Regions from separate parts of the Homo sapiens genome. Here regions 2 and 3 are each linked to region 1. Evidence: promoter capture Hi-C in 16 types of primary human blood cells and fetal thymus (Javierre and others, 2016). All regions are on one chromosome and are shown on one strand. The core of a region is centred on a gene start or on the middle of the fragment in contact, and the rest is flanking DNA. Distances in the headings are between cores, read along the strand shown. Region 1 holds the start of KATNA1 (katanin catalytic subunit A1). Region 2 overlaps UST (uronyl 2-sulfotransferase). Region 3 overlaps UST (uronyl 2-sulfotransferase).

The links. Contacts are between HindIII fragments. The CHiCAGO score rates a contact against its expected background, and 5 or more counts as called.
Region 2: a contact is called between a fragment that was not itself captured here and the fragment with the promoter of KATNA1 in region 1, in 1 of 17 cell types (activated CD4 T cells). The highest score is 5.6, in activated CD4 T cells.
Region 3: a fragment that was not itself captured here is called in contact with the fragment with the promoter of KATNA1 in region 1 in 1 of 17 cell types (activated CD4 T cells); the score reaches 10.3 in activated CD4 T cells.

What each region holds. Positions count from the first base shown.
Region 1 is chr6:149,646,990-149,650,308 of GRCh38, forward strand. It overlaps KATNA1 (katanin catalytic subunit A1), which reads right to left and starts at 1,725. Exons shown (of 11, transcript NM_007044.4): 1 at 1,480-1,725. RefSeq lists an enhancer at 1,525-1,604 and a silencer at 1,675-1,944. The HindIII fragment of the contact is 10,327 bases long and covers 103-3,319 here.
Region 2 is chr6:148,987,586-148,990,904 of GRCh38, forward strand. All of the region lies in intron 5 of UST (uronyl 2-sulfotransferase), which reads left to right. Among named protein-coding and RNA genes, the nearest start is that of UST-AS1, 25 kb to the left of the region's middle. The HindIII fragment of the contact is 3,017 bases long and covers 1-2,973 here.
Region 3 is chr6:149,004,867-149,008,185 of GRCh38, forward strand. The region is part of intron 5 of UST (uronyl 2-sulfotransferase); the gene reads left to right. Among named protein-coding and RNA genes, the nearest start is that of UST-AS2, 26 kb to the right of the region's middle. The HindIII fragment of the contact is 1,559 bases long and covers 688-2,246 here.

The DNA.
Region 1 (3,319 bases), core at 475-2,974:
ATACCAGTTTCAAAATGAGGTGGAGAATCCCTTGTGGACTACATAGCATGCCTATTACCTATAAAAATGTAAACGCTTCTTGAATAACCAACGCTATAAAGAAGCTTTATATAGCTTTTCATAGTCTAGGAATGTTGGGAAGTTGATCACTACTGCGTGTTTTTTTTTTTAAAGGTATTTACAGGCCACAACTTGTTAATGTTAATACAAAACAAAGTTTTGCTCCTATTTCTTGGTATAAGAACAAAAACCGGCCGGGCGCAGTGGCTCACGTCTGTAATCCCAACACTTTGGGAGGCCTAGGCGGGCGGATCACAATGTCTGGAAATCGAGACCAGCCTGGCCAACATGGTGAAACCCCATCTCTACTAAAATACAAAAAATTTGCCGCGCGTAGTGGAGCGCGCCTGTAGTCACAGCTACTCAAGGAGGCTGAGGCAGGGGAATCGCTTGAACCCGGGAGGCGGAGGTTGCAGTGAGCCAAGATTGCGCCACTGCACTCCAGCCTGGCGACAGAGCAAGACTCCGTCTCAAAAAAAAAAAAAAAAAAAAAAAAAAGAACAAAACCCAGCTCTTTTGGAAAAGAAAATAGGGCTTTATACTGAGACATTTAAGCCCGTAAAAACATTTCAAGAATCTGTCTTAACATCTACTAAGGTGATTATCATTGTGATTACGTGACAAAGATCTACTGCACCCATTCTAAAACATCGGGAATGTTTTCAGCAATAACTAGAGGTCTAATTTCAAAGAGGAAGACGTAAATTAGTGCTTTCAAGAGAAAAGAGCATCACTGTGCTGTTGGAAGTTAGTAACTAATATAAAAGCGGCCCTTCGCGGTTTTAACAGGAAACTATTTTTGATTAAATAAGAGCTTGAGATTATCCACTGTAAGGCACTTCAGGATCTACGTTTATCTCTAACTTTGTCATCACATTTGTATGAAACAACTGTTTCGAGGGAAAACTTTTCTAAAAGGTACCAACTCTAAACCAAAAGGCCCACAGGCCTTCCAGAGGACGCCGGGCTCTAGAATAAATAAGAAATAACATCCCCAACAATATCACTCGAACCTAACAAATTTTAAGAAAAGAAGTTGCCTCCCAATGTCATGGCCATCGGGATTTTTACCTGTGAGGGTTTCGGGGTGGGGGGCGTGAGCGGGTTCTGGAGAGAACCAGTCGAAAAATCGAAGAACTAAAAACTCGGCTGGTGACTTCGCTAACGACACAGATCAAAAGATGGGATCGACAGGAGCCCCCGAAAAGTCCTCCGCCTGACAGGATTCCTCAGGTAGGGGGACTGTCACCTAAGCCAAGTTATCGTGGACAACAGCAAGGACCTAGGACCTCAGCTCAGGCACAGGCAGGCTCACGGAGGGTTGCGCGGCGGGTTCTCGCTGTGGGCCCCCCGAGTCCCTCACCAGCCCGGCCCTGGAAAATCGGGGGTCCCCAGAGCACCGCCAGAGTGAAAACTCACCTGCGGCGGCCCAAGCTCCTCGGGAAACCGCCCAACGCCAGGCACAGGGGATTGGCGGAGTGGAGATCCCGGCAGCGAGGAAGGAGGGCCTGACCCAGTCCAGCCCACTTTGCTCTCCGCTCACGGCCCCAGTACTGCCCAGTTCAATCGTCAACACCACCTGCCGGCGCGGCTCCTGCTCGCCGAGAATTTGAAGACAAACCCGCCAGGGTCACTTCCGGTGCCGGGGACGACCTCGGCGACTCTGGCGCACGCGGGGCGTCGCCCCGGGAGCGAGGTCGCTGGGCGGGAGCGGCGGAAGAGGGTGTGGCCGGGCCCGGGGCCGCGCGTGCGCATTCTTGCACCGCCTCCTCCCGGCGGACGCAGCGGAGACCAGGGATAGTATAGACCTTGGTGTAGATGGTATTATGGTACTACCTCGCGCGCCTCTGTACCTTGTTCAGGTGCTTGCTCACTTTCCCTCCCACTTGATTTTCACCACACTCACACACACACCGAGGTCAGGTGTCTATTTTAGAGGTGAATGTCCAGGATCAAGCAATTCGTTTATGACAAATCCTGTTTTAGAACCTAGTATTCAGAATTCCCCAGCTGGGCTCCATGTCATGACATAACAATAGGGAGGAGGTAAACAAAGATTCTCGGACACACTGCTAGTGGGATTTTATTTTCTTGATTTTTTAATCACCGTTTTAATATGACCAGACAAGGAAAATGATGCTATTTCATGACTTACAGATATGTACTGCACAGGGCTTCCTCCAGTCTCAATCTCCACCCTCTGCCATCACTTGAGGCAGAATAGGGCACTTCTCACACATTCCTTTAAAAACGCAAGGTAATTAAGTTTCTAACATTAAAGCATCCCGACTGGGCACAGTGGCTCATCCCTGTAATCCCAGCACTTTGGGAGGCTGAGGCGGGAGAATAGCTTGAGCCGGGAGTTCAAGACCAGCCTGGGCAATATAGTGAGACCCCCCGTCTCTACAAAAAGTACAAAAATTGGCTGGACATGGTGGCGCACGCCTGTAGTCACAACTACTCAGGAGGCTGACACAAGAGGATCACTTGAGCCCAGGAGTTGGAGGCTGCAGTGGGCCATGATGGCGCCATTGCACTCCAGTCTGGGAGACAAAGTGAGGCCCTATCTCTAAAAAAATAAAAGCACCCCAGTCATCTAACATAGACATGTAGAAGCAATTCAGGGGAAATACATCCATTCAGTCAACAAATGTTTACTCAGCAACTACTATGTGTGAGACAGTGTTGGCACTGGGTATACAGTGGTCACGAAATAGAATGTTTCATGGGGCTTAAAGTCTTGTAACGTCTCAACTGAGTGGAAAATGATAGTTTCACTGTAGTAAATATGAACTCTATTGTAATAGGGAACAGGAAACTATATTTAGTATATATTTTTGGAATCAAAACCAATTCAGGGAGGTACAGATTAATTACCCTAATTCAACCTTCATCCTTTATGTGAGTTCAAAGGTATGCTAATTTATAAAGCCAATTTACAGTTAAAAAACTTCTCAAAGGCCACAAAATTAATACATATTGTATGATTCCATTGATAAGAAATTCTAGGCCAGGCACGGTGGCTCATACCTGTAATCCCAGCACTTTGGGAGGCCGAGACGGGTGGGTCACTTGAGGTCAAGGCGTTTGAGACCAGCCTGGCCAACATGGTGAAACCCCGTCTCTACTAAAAATACAAATATTAGCTGGGTCTGGTGGCGCACACCTGTAATCTCAGCTACTTGGGTGGCTGAGGCACGAGAATCGCTTGAACCCAGGAGGCAGAGGCTGCAGTGAGCCAAGATCGCGCCATTGCACT
Region 2 (3,319 bases), core at 215-2,714, 660 kb before region 1:
CTTGCCTTCAAGAAAAGCTCTTTAAAATCTTTTGACATGGCAAAAGAATCTGTAACTTGCCACTTGTACATCACTTCCAAAAATGTTTCTTCCTTCTTAATTTATTTTAAAAATTTTGTTTCAGGACCCACCGTGTGACAGGCACATTTTCCACCATTTGGGAAACATCATTGAATAGAATGAGAATTCCTACTGCCATGACACTAACACTGCAGTGACATCCGTAGCGCCAAAACTCTTGATCTTCTTCATCATGTGCTTTCATTCATCAGACGTGTATTCGTTCAGCCAAACAGACATGAGCATCTACTTTATGCCAAGCTCAGTGGTGAGGGCTACAGCTTCAAAAACAGAATATGGACTATGCTCTCGAGGAATTGTCTAAGGAGAGAGGCACACACAGCTAGGGTTCTAACATCAGAGCTTTATCTAGGAGCACCACCAGAGGTGTGGGGAGCTCGTGTCTGTGAGGCTTCCTGGAGGAGGTGTTACCTCAGTTGAGTCTTGCAGGATGAGTACAAGGTCCAAGCAGAGAGGGTGTAATTTGAAATAGCTTGATACAGAGGAGGAACTAAAGGCAGTGAAGGGTGCTGGGGTATAAAGTTTGAGGCAGGAGGTAGCAAGAACTGAAACTTGACATTGAACAGTTAGGCAGAGCCTGCATCATGCATCAATTACCTGGTTTACTCCCTTTATTCAAAAAACAGGCTGGGTGCGGTGGCTCATGCCTGTAAGTCCAGCACTTTGGGAGGTCAAAGCGGGTGAATCACTTGAGGCCAGGAGTTTGAGACCAGCCTGGCTAACATGACGAAACCCTGACTCTACTAAAAATACAAAAGGTAGCCCAGCATGGTGGCGTGTGCCTGTAGTCCCAGCTACTCAGGAGGCTGAGGCACAAGAATTGCTTGAACTTGGGAGGTGGAGGTTGCAGTTAGCCAAGATCACATTACTGGACTCCAGCCTGGGTGACAGAGAAAGACCCTGTCTCAAAAAAAAAAAAAAAAAAAAGCAAAAAACAACAATAGCAACACCTATAACCACAATTAACTTTCTTTCTTGTGTTCTCCGAAAGATTGGCAGGAAGGCAGATGAGGATGTTTCCCTGGTCTCTAATCTGAAGCTGTAGATTCCTACAACATGTAATACTGTCCCACCCTCCCCACCTCTTCCCAACCAAATGCCAATCCACTCCGCTTCATCATTTCCAAGTCCACCCTTCAAAGTAGACTTCGCCTATTCCCAAGGATGCAGTTCCATCTCTCCTTCTCCTCCTTGTCCTCTGCTCCTGTTAATTCACTGATCCACTGGGCAGAAACTCCAAGTCTGTCACTCTCTCCCACCCTTATTCCAATGCTCCTGTGCCAACAAGGAGTGACCCAAGCAGTGAGCTTTACAGCCAGCACCTGCTCCTTCTGGAATGGCCCTTCTCAGAAATGCAGGAACCTCAGCAGTCCTTCCTCAGCCAATAAGAATGAGATAATAGAGGTTCAAAGGCTTTGAAAACACAAGAGGCACATAATTCAGTGTTTTTGTTATTATCATTTGAGGCCTCTAGACTTCTGAAGAAGCTACTTCTGGTCTGTGAGAACTTCATGAAGGTGGAATTACTTGACTTCAGTAAAGGCCCCCCCCCACCCCCCGCAAATGAAAACCTTGATTAAAAAGTTTAAAAATTCAAAAGGAATGGTGAAGATAGGGAAGGACTGAGAATGAATTATTAAGAGGTTGGAAATTTCAGAGCCTTCCTTTTTGAAGAAGCTGGCTGAGTTCCAAAAGAAATCCAAGTCCTGAATTTCTATTACTTCTAACAAACTGCATTAGCATGTTACCAACACTTATAAACTGACTTAAAAGAAGACTAGGGCATTAAATTAAAAAGTAAGCCATGAGACTATTACCAAAATAAAAGGAAAGCAAGAGGGATTTGCCTTTGTCCTTGTTCAGAGAAACTGAAAACAAACTTGGATTGCATTAACAGAAGTATCTGTTCTACCAACTGCAAAAGTGCCAAAGGAGATCATATAGGTCCCCAACTCTGTCATGAGTCCTTCCAGGTGAACAGAGACCTTGTTAAATTAAGGCAATCACATTCAGCCTCCCAAGAAGGGAGCCTATAAAACTGAGAAGCCAAAGCTAATCCAGTCCTTTCCCATTCTAATTAAAGAGGCTGAAGGGCTTGTCTCACCTAACACTGTCTCATCTTCATGCCACTTCCTCAAATAAAGGAGTCAGTGAGAAGTTACCAATTCACATGGTAAATAACAAACTCTCCTGAGTTTTTTGGATAATCAAATGAGTTTTCCTTTGTTCATTCCATCCCTCCCCATTTGGAATTTAGATGGAAGAATGTCTAAGTCGATGAAAATCCAACTAAAGAAACATTGGCCTCTTTGTGGAGGAATCTCACATTTAAGTACAAAAAAAATTAAGCGTTTAGGGGAAGAAAGTTCAAAGACTTTTGCTTCCTTTGTTCTTTTAAATATTTTATTTGGAGTTCGGCATTACAGTCAGGACAACCTACAGTAAGAAAACCAGGCTTTCGTATAAAAGTTACTGAAAGGTGCTATACACCAACATACTTTTATATCTACCATATTTTTATATTCTTTATATCTTTCATTTTAAAATATTTATTTGGTGTGGCAGGTTTATGGTAGCTTTTTATCGTCCTCTTTTTGCTTGGCCATATTTTATATAATAAACAGGAACTGGTTTTATAATAGAAGTATTTGAAGACAAAGAATAAGATTTGATGCCATGAGATCTTTCTTTCTTTTAAATCCAAATAGTTAAGCAGATCAACCTATGAAGAGCGAGAAGCCAAAGGAGATGTTTCATGATAAGGTAACTAGATGGTATTTTTCCATTAGCTGCTTGACCTCTTTAACGTGACACCAGTGTGTTTTCCTGGATAAAATTACAATCCCAGATATTCAGACGTTCAGATTCATATTTTCCATCTTAGCCCACGAAAGCTTTACTTTGGGGATTTTGCAGAAAATTCTGGCTTGTGTTTCAGTCATTTGCCTTTTCTCTGTGGAAGCCAGCAGGAAACAGTAGCAGATCCTGACAATCCCCAGACGTCCCAGGGAAAGTGCAAAGAGGCTCGGCATTAATTGATTAAGAGGTTCTTTCAAAGCGCAACTTCTCTCTAAAACTACTCACTTTAAATCATGAGACTAGCTGCAAACTGCAATATTTATAAGAGACATAAATATTGAAGAACACAGTGACACTCTCCTAGGAGCAGGAACTAGAAGTGGAAAGAGCAGTGTTCCACGTAGACTCAGTAAGACTTGGAAGCTGATCGTATCTATTC
Region 3 (3,319 bases), core at 217-2,716, 640 kb before region 1:
TCTGTTGCCCAGGCCGGAATGCAGTGGTGCGATCACAGCTCACTGCAGCCTTGACCTCCAGGGTCAAGTGATCCTCCCATTTCAACCTCCTGAGTAGCTGGGACTACAGTAGGCATGAACCACTATACCTCCAGCTGATTTTTTTTTTTTAACTTTTTTGTAGAGACAACTTTTTGTTGCCCAGGCTGGTGATCAGATGTCTTGAGTCTCAGCATGCTGGCCTAGAGCAATGATTCTCAGATCTAGAACCTTTGTATCAAATGAAGCCTTACAGAGAACCCAATATGTAAACCCAGGCGAAGCAGAGCTCTTCTGGCTTGGGTAGGGCAGGAGGTCTTGGAGCCCTGCCCATCCAGCACCTCCCCAACAGACCCTCTGTGTATGTTGACGTTTCCTTTTACTGGGAACTCCTTACATCCCTCTCTTCTGGGTCCAGGATCAGCCATAGAATTGGAGAGGGTTGAGCGGCCCTGGCTGTAGAGGAAAGAAGACTCCAGAAGCTGGAGAAGAATTCGGGATCTGACAGGAAGTTCAAGGTGACCTCTGGGAGCCTTCTGAGAAGAAAAAGGGCATGCAACCTCAGCAGTGTCTCTCTGCCTCTCACCAAATTGACAGTGGGCCCGAACTTTGCTCATTTAATGAGATAGAATTAGTAAAGTCTCCAGTGTACTTTTCATTCCTTCCACAAGCTTTTACCGAATAAAATGATTGGTACTCAGTAAAGGTTAGTCCCTTCCTTCTTCTCTCCCTCCCTCTCTCCACCACCATTAGACCTCATTTCTTAAAGGACTGATTTCCACTAAAATGCAAGTATTTCTTGGAAGCACATTGAGCTTGATAACTTATTTATTTATTCTTCTGTGTGCATTAATTTATGAACTCATTTCCACCAGACACCTAGCTGAGAGCCATGTTTGATGGATGGGAATCAGAGAAGAAAGCCAGAGAGAGCCCCAGATGACTGAGGGATGAAAGGCCCTCAAGAGACTGGGGAAAGGCAGTAATGACAAGGTTCACACTAACACAATCACACCCAGGACAGCGGCAGATTTGAAGAGGGAGCAGTGCAGACCTGAGGGTGGCTGAAGAGGGTTGCCTCAAGGAGGGTCCCCACTGTGGCCAAAGAGGTCCTTGTAACTAACTGAAAACAATTGGACAGGACCACCACCTGCAGTCCACTCACAGTGGGCGTTTCTTGCACTCATCCTATACCATATTTTATGAATTTTATTTTAAGTTCCAGGATACCTGTGCAGGACATGCAGTTTTGTTACATAGGGAAACATGTGCCATGGTGGTTTGCTGCACCCATCAACCCATCACCTAGGTATTAAGCCCAACATGCATTAGCTATTTATCTTGATGCTCTCCCTCCCCCAACCCCACTGACACGCCCCAGTATGTGTTCCCCTCCCTATGTCCATGTGTTCTCATTGTTCAGCTCCCACTTATAAGTGAGAACATGTAGTGTTTGGTTTTCTGTTCCTGTGTTAATTTGTTAGTTTGCTGTTAGGATAGTGGCTTCCAGCTTTATCCATGTCCCTGCAAAGGACATGATCTTGTTCCTTTTTATGGCTGTATAGTATTCCATGGTATATATGTACCATATTTTCTTTATCCAGTCTATCACCAATGGGCATTTGGGCTGATTCTGTGTCCTTGCTATTATGAATAGTGCTGCAGTGAACATTTGCATGCATATATCTTTATAGTAAAATGATTTATCTTCCTTTGAGTATATACCCAGTAATGGGATTGCTGGGTCAAATGGTATTTCTGGTTGTAGATCTTTGAGGAATCACCACACTGTCTTCCACAATGGTTGAACTAATTTACATTCCCACCAACAGTGCAAAATGTTCCTATTTCTCCACAGCCTCGCCAGCAACTGTTGTTTCTTGACTTTTTAATAATCGCCATTCTGACTGGTGTGAGATGGTATATCATTGTGGTTTTTATTTCTATGCCATAAATATTGAACTGATCTTCCATTTTGCATTTTTCCCACTTTCCATAACCACAGAGTCAACATCGTCTCTGTCTTGGTATGTTATGCTCATTTATTATCTTCTGTCTGTAGTTGACAGGTTTTTCTGAATGATTTTAGGAACTTCAAGTTCCAGTAGAGAGAATGAATGAATGACTTCTCTTAACTGGACTTCTATCACAAAATCATGGCTAACTTCATGCATTCAACTACTGTTTTTTAAACATTCCAAAAAGTGATCAAGACGTCATTCCAGGCAAGCTTTTTTTTTTTTTTTTTTTTTTGAGATGGAGTCTCACTCTGTTGCCCAGGCTGGAGTGCAGTGGTGTGGTCTTGGCTCACTGTAACCTCCACCTCCCAGGTTCAAGCGATTCTCCTGCCTCAGCCTCCTGAGTAGCTGGGATTACAGGTGCACACCACCACACCCGACCAATTTTTTTTTTTTTTTTTTTGAGATGGAGTCTCATTCTTTTGCCCAGGCTGGAGTGCAGTGGTGCAATCTCGGCTCACTGCAAGCTCTGCCTTCTGGGTTCACACCATTCTCCTGCCTCAGCCTCCTGAGTAGCTGGGACTACAGGCGCCCGCTACCACACCCAGCTAATTTTTTGTATTTTTTTTTTTTTTTTTTAGTAGAGACGGGGTTTCACCATGGTCTCGATCTCCTGACCTCATGATCCGCCCGTCTCGGCCTCCCAAAGTGCTGGGATTACAGGCGTGAGCCACCGCGCCTGGCCTTTTTTTTGTATTTTTAGTAGAGACGGGGTTTCACCATGTTGGCCAGACTAGTCTTGAACTCCTGACCTCAGGTGATCCACCTGCCTCGGCCTCCCAAAATGCTGGGATTACAGGCGTGAGCCACCGCGCCCGACCTCCAGGCAAACATTTAAGACAGGGGGTTTTTTTTTGGCTGTAAGAAAGAGATGCCAATCTGTCCCTACTCCTAAGGAGCAAAGGAGCCTGAAAAACCAAGAGGCCAGTTGCTTCCTCTTGCTGTCTTACATTTTTGTATTTCATTTTTCTTTCTAAGGTGCAGTGAGAGCCCAGATCTATTTGTTTAGTCTGTTTCTTCCCATGTTGCTCATACTCACAAATTTCTATTTAAACTTGCCTCCTGGCTTCTTTAAGAGATAAACTGTTGCTGCAGTACGGTTAGGGTAAGGAAATTACCTTACTTAACAGCTGGTAAGTCACCAGCTGTTGCTGCTGGTTATGGTGCCTTGCTGTGCAGTCCGTGAGCTAACTTATTTAGTGAGAGATTTTCCTGCCAATTTGCTATAACCTTGAGGGAGAAAAACTGAAATCTCCCACAGAGGCAGGAATTTATTTTGCAAA